Linked DNA regions of Homo sapiens: region 1 is linked to region 2. The links are contacts of gene promoters, found by promoter capture Hi-C in human tissues and cell types (Jung and others, 2019). All regions are on one chromosome and are shown on one strand. Each heading gives the region's core, a stretch centred on a gene start or on the middle of the fragment in contact. The rest is flanking DNA. Distances are from core to core; before and after follow the strand shown.

Region 1 (5,436 bases), core at 996-3,495, 49 kb after region 2:
TTGAATGAGCCAGCAGAAAGACAACCAGAAGTGGCAATCACAATTTGTTCTCCTGAGAGACAGCCTGTCTTAAAATGAAGCCCGCATGAGGAAAGCAGTACTGAGGAATAGACAGTAGCACAGGTTTCTAACCACATCTTATGAGCCTCCAATTCCTACCCTCCCTAAAGCCAGGACTTTCTGAAGTCTACACTTCCCATTAAGTGAACAAGTGGATGATTATTTATTAAGCAAACTAGAGTTCATTGTCTATCATTTGAAAGTGAAAAGATTTTATTCGTCAACACATGAATATTTCAAAAAACTCAATAGTAACCTTAGATTTAGGATGATCAACTGGGCTGGTTTGTCCCTGAATCCTCTAAGTTTAGTGCTGGAAAATCTCACATCCTAGGAAACCTCTCAGTCCTGGAATATCAGGATGGTTGGGTCCCCCCTAGGTCAGCCTGTTAAAAAAGGTTAAGGAAAACTGATTTTCACTTTACTGCAGGTGTGTATGTGGATAAAATGAAAACCAGAATCAGCTAGGATTCACTGAGCACTTATCATGTGGCAGATGTTCTGATTAGAACTTCTCATATGCTACTTCAGATACACATGACAGCCTTGGAGAAGGGAATCTTAATATTACTCCCATTTTGCAAATGAGGAAATTGAAACACAGAGAGATTAAAAAATAAAGTTCTTAAAGATGTGCAACTTGTCCTGTTCTTAAACTGCTGGTTTCTCTAGAACACATTAAATGGAAGCAGATGATCAATAGCTTTGACCAGAAACTTCAGAGTGTTGGTGGTAGTGCAGCGGGAATGACAAGGAGCTTGGGGCTCCTCCCGCTCTGCAGGACCCAGTTTGATGTAGCTATTTTCAGTGGGAAGGCCATTGACTCCAGACAGTGGATTGAGATCCAAGCAGGTTTGAGTTTCTGTTGACGCATGCTGTATTTGTTAGGCTGTGAGCTGCAAACAACAGAAACCAAGTTTAGCTAACTTAAGCAGAAGAGATTTATTCAGAGGACCTTGGGCAACTCACAGACTCTCTGGATTTAAAAGCCATGCAGACAGGAATAATGGCAGAGGTGATGTTGGGGATGTGGTGTGAGAATGAGGCATACATCCCAGCCGCTGTGCAGATGGAGTCCTGATGCAGTCTGCCTGCGGGTTGCTGGTGTGCACCCTCTGATCCACAGCAGAATGGAGATGAGACCACATTTTAAACTTTCTGGACCGGAGCCACACAATCTGCTTTTGAGTGTGCTAGCTGGACTCTCAGGCAAGCCTTCTCCTCATGGCGGCCCCAGCCAGCTCTTGGTTTACCTCTTTTTCTAGAGTAATTCCAGATGAAAGAGACCATTGTTTCCTATATTAGATGTAATGGTCCCCACCCCTCCCATCTGCCTAAGATATGTCAATCTGAAATCTGTGAATGTGAACTGACTTGGAAAAAAAGGTGTCTTCATCAGTGTAATTAAGTTAAGGATCTTGAGATGAGATCCTCTTGGATTAAGATGTGCCTTAAATGCAATGACAAGTATCAGAAGAGAAGGCCAAAAAAAAAAAAAAAAAAAAAAAAGAGGCCACATAGAAGGGAAGGCATGAAAAGATGGAAGCGGAGATTGGAGTGATGCGTCTACACGCTGAAGAGTGCTAAGGATTGACAGCAGCCACCCACCAGGAGCTGGGAGAGAGGCATGGACGCATTCTCCCTAAAACACTCCAGGAGGAACCAACACTTACGCTCCTTGATTTCAGACTGTGAGATGATAAATCACTGTTGTCTTAAGGCACCCAGTTTGTGGTAATTTATTACGGCAGACCTAGGAAATGAATGCACTTCTTAAATGTCCCCTGCAAAATTTCCAAAATTGTATTTCATTGGCATGTTTGGGTAACATGCCCAACTTGGACCAATTCCGTATGGCCCTTGGATGTAGCTGAGCCACTGAAGTAATGCCTCAGCACTTCTGCTTTGTGAGAAAAATAACCAATTATATAAATTATTAGCAATGACTGTGTTTCTAATTAATACAAGTCTCCTCTCCATAATACAGAGGAGGAAATTGAGACACAGAGGGATGACGTGCCTTTTGCAAGCTGGTGAGCAGCTCATCCATGCCCAATAATCCAGGGTGCAGAATAGGCCAACTGGCCAAGTCTGGGATACGTGCCATCTTCTGGAGCCAGATGTTGGGAGTGTTTTAGCCTTAAACAAATGACATGAACTTGGCTTGAAAGTAAGATGGTTCCCCAAAGTAAAAGCAAAGCATTGTTGACAGAAGTAGAGAAAAGCAATGCTCAACAGCTGTTTTGGATTGAATTGTGCCCCCCCAAAGTCATAGGTTGAATCCCTAACCTCCAATGTGACAATATTTAGAGTCTTTAAAGAGGTAATTAAAGTTAAACAAGATCATAAGGATGAGAACCTAATTCAATAGGACTAATGTCTTTATAAGAGGAAGAGACATCAGATCTCTCTCTCTCTCTCTCTCCCTTTCTCTCTGTGCACACAGGGTTAAGGCCGTGTGAAGACACAGCAAGAAGGTGGCCATCTGCAAGCCAGGGAGAGAGCCCTCATTAGAAACCAAACCTGCGGGTACCTAAATCTGGGATTTCTAGCTTCCAGGATGATGAGAAAATACACCTGTGCTGTTTAAGCTACCCAGTCTGTGGTATATTTGTTATGGCAGCCTCAGCTGACTAATACCATAGGCAAGAATAATTAATACATTTTATAAATCTCATATAGCTAAGAACCACCTGCTGCCCACCACCCTGGGTAGAAGGTTAACGAGAACAGAAGATTGTGCAGCCACTGCAATTGCACCCCGTCAATGTTCTTCTCTTCTTCCTGGGCACACAGTAAGACTGCATTTCCAACCCCTCTCCCCACAGCCAGATGGAATCACGTGACGGATTATGGGTCAATGAAACGCAGAGAACTGATACACGTTACCTGAAGGCCTGGCCCTTAAAAGCTACTCATGCATGGTCCCCTTAATCTTTATGGACTGGCTTGTGAAAGGGATCCGGAGAAGGTTCAAGCCATGAGTGGAAGGGGCCTGGATCTTTGAGTGTCTACACAGAGAAAAGACTCTCTGTCTACACAGAGAAAAGACTCTCTGACAAATCATGTTGTGTTGTAATGTGAAGGAGAACTAGACTTACTGTGTTAAAACACTGAGATACTCGACTTTATCTGTTTTTCTAGCCAGTATTACTTATCTTCATTAATCAGAAAGAATCCAATCAATATACCAAATAGTCAAGATTTGGGGGTTTTAGTTTTCTAGTCGTATGATTACCAGTGACATTCATGCTTGTTTCTGAGGTTTTCTGTGTTTTTCAGATTTTTAATAAAGGAAATGTTTTCAAGTAAGAAAAAACGTGTATTCTTATAAAGTTGGCTATGAAGGATTTGTAATGACACGGCAGCCACTTCACCGTGCATGACTTTCTACAGGCATGATATGAACTCTATTCCCATGCTGTGCAAAGCATCTGTGAAGGTTCCTCATCTATGTGTAGTTGGTTTTTTTTTTTGTTTGTTTGTTTGTTTTGACGGAGTTTTGCTCTTATTGCCCAGGCTAGAGTGCAGCGGTGCAATCTCAGTTCACTGCAACCTCTGCCTTCTGGTTTCAAGCAATTCTCCTGCCTCAGCCTCCCAAATTGCTGGGATTACGAGCATGAGCCACCGCACCCAGCCTATCTTTGTGTAGTTTTGATTGTGAGGAACAGAATCCCGCTCAAACTAGCTCAACAAAAGGAATTTAGTCAAAAGCAGGGACCACCTTGCAGAACCCAAAGTTAAACTAAATAAAGAGAGCAGGGAAACTCCATGGCCTCCCCAGCAGGAGCCTGTGGCCTCTCATGCTTGTGCCCAGCCATCAGCGAGACTTCTCACCAACCCCCGTCACTTCCTCTCTTGAGGACCGCGAGCTGCCATGTGTCTCCACTACCCATATTTGAGGTTCCTCCTCCACCACCTCCAAGTGTACATCACTCTACAGGAGCAGGATCTCTGGGAGACTCAACCTCTGTGTCAGCTTACAGTCTCAAGAGAGAGGCCTGTATTGGGCTCTGTCTCATTTGAAAGTTGCTTCCTTCCGGGTTTGATGTGCAATTGTGTCCTGTGCAGGCATAATCTGACCTTCAGCTGCCAAAGCACACCCTTCAAAAGACCTGTGGGTGGGCAGGAGAATTCCAGAGAAGAGAAGGGTATGACAGCAATAATTGATATGTCTAGTACCTGGCTTGCCTAGAAGAAAACACACAAAATTGTAAGATTGGATGTATCACTACTACCATTTACTAACAGTTGTCAAGCAATAACTACCTTCCTGGCACCATCTCCCACTGTAATGGAAAAAATAAACTTTAATAAAAATTTTAAAGGGATAAAAAGAGATCCCAGCAGTAGTAGTAATATTTAGAGACAAGTTACTTAAGACATTAAGAAGTTCATCAAGATCTCATCAAGAAAACATTAAACTAACATGATGCTGAAATACTGATCAGGCCAAAAATGCTATGATTCTGTGGAAGTATATACAACTCATACAATATTATGAATATCTACTAAAATGAGGAGAGGCATTTCTGGAATATCCAACATGAACTGTTGCTAGGCCAACACAACAACAATCATCAATAATTATTGAGCATCTGGGTATTTCACAAGTGCTTTTATTTAATCTTCCCAGGGCCATTTAGCTAACTCAAAATCCATTTTAACTCCCCCTTTTACTGCTGCTTCAACTCAGGATGAAAAAGTAGATATCTCTTTCCCTACAGCAAAGGGAAGCCTTGTGACCTTGTACTGGTCAATAACATACAGCAAGTTTGGGCCAGGTGCGGTGGCTCACACCTGTAATCCCAGCACTTTGGGAGGCCGAGGTTGGTGGATCACGTCAGGAGATCGAGACCATCTTGGCTAACGCAGTGAAACCCCGTCTCTACTAAAAATACAAAAAATTAGCTGGGCGTGATGGCGGGCGCCTGTAGTCCCAGCTACTCGGGAGGCTGAGGCAGGAGAATGGCGTGAACCTGGGAGGCAGAGCTTGCAGTGAGCGGAGATCACACCACTGCACTCCAGCCTGGGCGACAGAGTGAGACTCTGCCTCAAAAAAAAAAAAAAAAAAAAAAAGGTACAGCAAGTTTGGTAACGCTTGTGCTTTCTTATTTCTTATTTATTTTCTCATTTAAACAAACGGGGACAAAAAAAGAGAGGAACAGTATGGCTACCACCATCCTCAATTAATCCTGCCTTAAACACTGATATGATGACAGGAGCTGTGGCAGCCATCCTGTGAGCACGAGGAAAGGATGAAGGGATGCATAGGCATAAGGCCCTTGGACACAGCTGAGCCACTGGAGCGATGCCTCAGGACTTCTGCTTTGTGAGAAAAATAACTCTTTACTTGTATCAACTATTAGCAACTAG
Region 2 (5,887 bases), core at 908-3,407:
CCGCCCCAAAAAAAAAATGCTGGGCTGTTGTTGCTGTGGATTTTGGTTTTTTTAACCTCACGTCTGCCTGAGTCAGGTTCACTGAATTCATCAACCTTTTCTTTGGTTTCCTGTGCACATTATAAATCCAGAAGGCTCTGATCCCAGGGATTGTTCTAACTCATAATTAGGAAACGTGAGCCCATTTCAACCACACTTCAAAGACAGGGAAGGAGGGGGAACGTAAATTCCTCTTTCTAAATCGAACCATCACAGAACTCGGCATTTCAACTGTCTTCATCTATTATCAGATCCAAAGCAACATAACCTCAGTGATTCTGGAAGAACTCAGAGAACAGACAATTCATGTAATTAAAAGACTTTGTGCGTGATAATTGGCTTTGAAGTTTCTGAGAGAGATCTCATCTCAAAAATCTTTGCAGAAAAATATGGGTACAGGGTTCTTGCAGCACGTATTAGAGACTGCTGAGACGCTTCACTCTCCTCCCAGTGTATCTATCTGCAGGAAAGGGGCACGGGTGGGGGAACCACACACAAGCAGCCCAGGTCAATCATGAGAAAGAATCTCCCGCACAAATCACACCATTTCTCTTCAAGGAAGAATGACTGTCCAGAGCTTCCAAACTTGCTCTTCCCATGACAGACAGGGATGCTGGCAGAAGAGAAGAGGAAACATTGAGGAATTCCTGCCTTGACACATGGCTTCAAGTCAGGGCTCCGCTGGGAAAATTCGGGTCACAACTTGTAGCTGAAACTCCACGTGCACCCTGCGGGGCCGCTGCTGCTCCCAGCACCCTACGGAAGGGTGAGCGCCAGACCCTGTGCCCAAACCTCACAGCGGCAGACCTGGAGAAACCCATCCCCCTTCTTCAGAGCCGCCCCCCAGGCTATATTTTTGGCAGCCTATAATACACAAAATAGTATTCCCATACAACAGGAGTGCTCCAAAATTATTTCCAAATAGGTCAGTGCCACCAGGGAAAGTCAATCCCAAATTCCAGAAATCTCCCTGGTCATCTCAATCCCCTCCTCCCCCGACAGCCGGCTCGGCCCTCCAGAGGCCACCTTTCCTCTCAAGGGTCCCCACGCCCTCTCCCTTTACAGAAAAGGCTTTCAGGAAACAGCCTTCCTTTCCTTTCGGCTCCTTAGTAGTCTCACCTAAGGCCTCCCACCCAAGTGCTCCAGGACAAGCACCTTCGGCCAAGGGGCGTCCGAGGAGCTTGGCTGCCGCACGAGCGCACGTTCACACGCGCGCACACACACATGCACACAAGCGCGCACACACACTTGCACACGAGCCCTCTCTCCCGGCCGCCCCCATCCTCCACACACTCCCACACACTCACTCCAGGCGAAGTTAGTCCCCGGGCCCTGGCGGCCGCGGCGTCCTCACCTTTGGAAAACAGGGCGGCCAGGCTGATGAGTACCGGCGACCAGTGGTGCCACAGCGTCCCCATCTCAGACGGGCACATCCTGGAGACCCGGAGCGCAGATCCTCCGCTCCCCGGCGCCGTCCAGGCGAACAAGAGACCGTCTCAGTCCCCTAGAGGCCCGCAGCGGGGCCGGTGGCGAGGGAGCGCCCGGCTAGGGGCCCGAGCAGCCCGGGCGCCCTGCTCCCTCTTCCCGCCAGTCCATGGCCAGGCCGGGAGGCGACGACCGCGCGGGCTCCTGAGTTGCTCTCCGGAGTCCAACACGCGCGCAGGCAAACCCCACCTCCCTCCTTCGACCCCAACAGAATTTTTTTTAAATTTTAATCCACAGGGGGTATTTCCTTTCCTGTTTACCCGAGCGAAGAGTGGCCCCCGGTGGCCCAAGGAGGGGCGCCTCCAGGCGCAGGGCTCCGGCGGCTCCAGCTGCTCCCGGGCTGGCTAGCGGGCGCTGGCGCAGGCGGCGCCGGGGTGGCGGGGCTGCGGAGCCCGGGACGCGGGCAGAGGCGGCTCGGAGCCCCCCGGGCGGGTGGCCGGGCTCGCTGGGCGGCCCGGGGCTCCCTGGCCCGCAGCCCCCATCCCAGGCCGGCCGCTGCGCCTCGGGGCTCGGGCGCGCGCGCGCTCCGGCACCCAAAGTTTGGCGGGTGCGGCTGCTCCCCGGCCGCCGCCTCGGCCCGCCCGGCCCCGGGCCCGGCTGGGGCTCGCGGGGCTCTACGCGCGCCGAGCGCACTGCAGGCTCCGGAGACGCGGGGCTCCCCCCTGCGCCCGGGGGAGGCGGGCCAGATGTGCGCGGAGGAGGGCCCGCCGGCTCGGGGACGCGGCCGAGCAACGCAGCTGCCTCCTGCCAGCAGGCGCGGGGGCTCCGCTCCGCAAGGACCGCATCCGGAACGGAACGGAGGCGATCGCCACGGTGCCCGGAGCCGGCTGGGGCTTTCGCCTTAAAAATTTGTCTGCTTTTAAAAAGCCCCACCCTTTCGGAGTGACAGCTGTGAGCCCCAATCCGCAAAGTAAATCCCACCTCCCCCTGGCCGCCCCACGCCCAGCCTCCCGGCCACCCTCCCTGCGAGCGCGGACGCGCGGTGGCGGCGGGCGAGGGCTCCCAGCGCGGGCGCACCCCGGGGACGGAGCCACCCACTCTCCCAACAGGTGTCCAGCTGGCCACCGGCCTCTCGTCGTCATCAAAACCTCAGGCCCAGGGGAGGTCCTCCAGCCCGGGGGCACCTGAGGCTCTTCGCCAGGGAGAGCGCAAGGATGGCTGGAGAAGGGCCCTCGCCCCGCCCTGCGCATCTCCCAGGGATCGCAGTGAGGAAGTCTCTGACACGCCACACTGAGGTCATGCTGGCCCCAAGCCCCTTCCCAGAGCGATCCCCCAAGTTAGTGTCCCTAGAAACATGTCGTGTGCTCCCCAGGGCTCACTGGGAAAGGAAATGGATCCATTAGGAGACAACATTGCTTTGAGAAGATAAAAGACATGATTCTCAACACCGCCCGGAATCTCCAACTAAGACATTCCCACACCAAGATCCCTAAGCACCGTCCTGTAATTTGTAGCCCAAGAACTGCTTTGCTCCACGAGAGCCTTTAAATTAACCCCATCAAAGCTCAGAGGGAAGAAAAGCATTCAGAATTTTTAAGGAATATTGTAAACCAACAAGCCCTGAATCTAATGAGGTGAATTCACCTCAGTAGATAAAAATGGGTCGTTATCATCTGACTGAGGGGGCAATGGACTTTTTTATCCTGTATGCCTGTAGTTGCAGAAATATACCAATGCTTTAAGAGTTTTTAGCTTTCAAAGTTTCAAGGAAGATCAAAAAAGCCACTGCTGTTCTACCGAAGATTGTTTTTCTGGGTTCATGTCCTTTGAGATGTGCTCTTGTCTTTTATTCTGTATCTACTTATCTGAATATATCTGTCTTTCTGTTTTTTCTTTTGTTTGTTTCTTAAACTTGTTGCCTTTTCTCTTTGTATTGCTCTCCTGTAAAATTCCTAAGAGTCGACGCTGCAAAGACCCTAAGAGATTGTCTCTTTCACTGTTTCTGAAGTTTGAACCAGCAGGAGAGTCACTGGAAAATTTGTTAGACCTGGGTTGCTGGGCCCACCCCAGAGCTATCTCGGCAGGTCAAGGTGGGACTTCCGATCTCCGTTCCTAAAAAGTTCCAGGTGATGCTGATGCTGCCGGCCTGCGGAACACGTGCTGGAACCACTGGTCCCCTTTCTCCTTCACCTGAGTGATGAGAGAGCTGAGCTTTCGTCTCTTGGACACCTTCACCTGGTCTCTGAGTGTCAAAATTGATGCCCGCACTGAATGCATAATCCAGGTTCCATCCTTAACGCTACAGTGGGTCTGAGTCTATTTGTAAATCATCTATTTGTGACACTGAGTCTATTTGTAAGACATTTCTCAGACATATTGACTAGAAACAAGTGGTCCCTGTTCTTTATTAAAAACAATCATTTTATGTTTCTCTAAATCAAATTGAGTTTTTCCCCTGAATTGCAATCATCAAATAACTTTTCTTTTTGCCATTGCAGAAGGTTTCTCTATCTGTAATGTGAAGACAAAAGGTGACTGTCAAGTTCCAGCTGCTGCCTAAAATGTTAAACGGTTTCTTCATTATGCGTAGTTGGCGAAACAAAAGTTTTTTCCACTCTTTGGTATGGAAGATTTTTTGGGAAGATGCAACTTCAGATACCTAATCAGTGGCTAAAATAAGATGCAAGAATGGCTTCTTACTTTTTCTCTCTCCAGTATGCCATTCTCCCTGGTACATCTAATCTTCTTTGGGTAATTAACACAGCTAATTGTGGGGAAGCAAAACTTAGACTTGGAGATGGACACTGAGGGCTCATAGGTCCCTAACTCCAGCCCCTGCCCCAGGACAACTTCCCATCAAAATCGCCTGCCTTGTCTCTCTCAAGTTACTTGTAAGAAATCTGCTTTCCTCCAAGAATATGTGTTTCATCTGCGGGGCCATAAATCAAGCTGTAAGCCTAATTTTGTCGGTAATTAAATTGCACTAATTGTTCATGCTGTGTGGATGAGGCTTTTACACTAAGCAGTTTTTGTTGTTATTTTTCAATAAAACAAAAACATTCCCTGTAGCAGTTTTTGAGAAATGGCAACTTTGAGCGTTGATAAAGGCAGAAAGGAGCTGGAATTCAAGTACTGCAGGGGCTATGCCACTGGTGGATGAGAGGACACTTTCAGGCCCTCTAAAGATGGGGCCTCCTGTAAAACTGAAGCCATTCTCTTCCAGTCCTTCTGACTGCATCCAGGAGAAAGGCTCAGGCCTGAGCTACTCCGGAACAGCCTTTTAGTAATTGCAAATGTCCATGTTTTTTAAACAAAAAAGGAAGCTCTTTCTGCACAATGACAACATCTAGCTCAAGTTACTAACATCGATTTGTTTTTATTTTGATTATTATTATTTTTGTTTTCTCTCCTTTTACTTGGTGATGCATTTTGTTTAAAAAATATCAAGTTATGTATGTTTATGAAGATGGGAAATGAGTAATGGATTTAGCAATCACTACTGACACGGGTGCAGGCACCGTCTTCTCTCTATGACAATACTCCGGAAGATGGTGAGAAATGAAGTTTGGGAAACCTTAGCATGAAGTGAGAGCTACCAGATCAATCCCTCCTGAAGATGCAGAAGAGACTTTTTGAAACTCCCTGTCTTCCCAGTTTTCCAAAATTCATGAAATGACTGGGAAATAGAAAGGCCTGGTTCAATCAACTGTCTCTTTCACTAGTGGGGAAAGCCTTCTGATGTTGAGGGCACTGTAAACACTGGGAACATTGCACACCCTTCCTGGTAAGGCCAGCAGGAGATCATCCTTCCAGAAGGAGCACCTCAGCGGAATCCATGCTGTGCCCTTGAGGAAGGTGTGTGTTTGCCAAGACCTGTCACTCTCTCCTTCCCAGCGCATGGATGACTACTCTTCTCAGCCCCTTGCAGTTGACCAACTAAATGTGAGCAGAAGTCATGGGGGTCATTTCTCTGGTGGGGCAGTGAAAAGCTCACCTGTGACTCCTCATTCTGCACCTGCCCTGCCCTGGGAGAAGAGTGGACCCTGTGTTTGAGATGGTGCAGCTGCTACAAGGTGAGCCTTCCAGCCAGCAGTCCAGCAAGTTGATGAGAGAGCAAAGTCCCCCGTCAATCCACATTAAGAAGTATGGTAAAAGAAATTAATTTTTATTGTGTTAAATCATCAAACTTCTTGGTTCTTCCAGGTTAACCATACTAAAATCCAGACCTACTTTTACTCTCCTCTCTCTGTCCTTCTCCCTTTCTCATCTCTTCCCAGAGCTCCACAAGCAGATGTTAAAAAGTTGGAATATTCGTGCTCTCCCAGGTGACCCATGGTGTCACCAGGTAACTGCCAGGTGAACCTCGCAGAGCAGCCTCTTCTGCAAAGACCAATAGGATACTGCTGCATTTTCCTTAAGTTAC

What was found. Contacts are between HindIII fragments. The study calls those that stand out against the background at their distance.
Region 1: a contact is called between a fragment that was not itself captured here and the fragment with the promoter of TMEM132D in region 2, in 3 of the 25 tissues and cell types used here (aorta, spleen and stomach).

The regions. Positions count from the first base shown.
Region 1 is chr12:129,951,251-129,956,686 of GRCh38, forward strand. No RefSeq gene overlaps it. Among named protein-coding and RNA genes, the nearest start is that of TMEM132D, 50 kb to the left of the region's middle. The HindIII fragment of the contact is 7,079 bases long and covers 1-5,436 here.
Region 2 is chr12:129,901,868-129,907,754 of GRCh38, forward strand. TMEM132D (transmembrane protein 132D) reads right to left here and starts at 2,158. Exons shown (of 9, transcript NM_133448.3): 1 at 1,394-2,158. The coding sequence starts at 1,472. The HindIII fragment of the contact is 10,076 bases long and covers 1-5,887 here.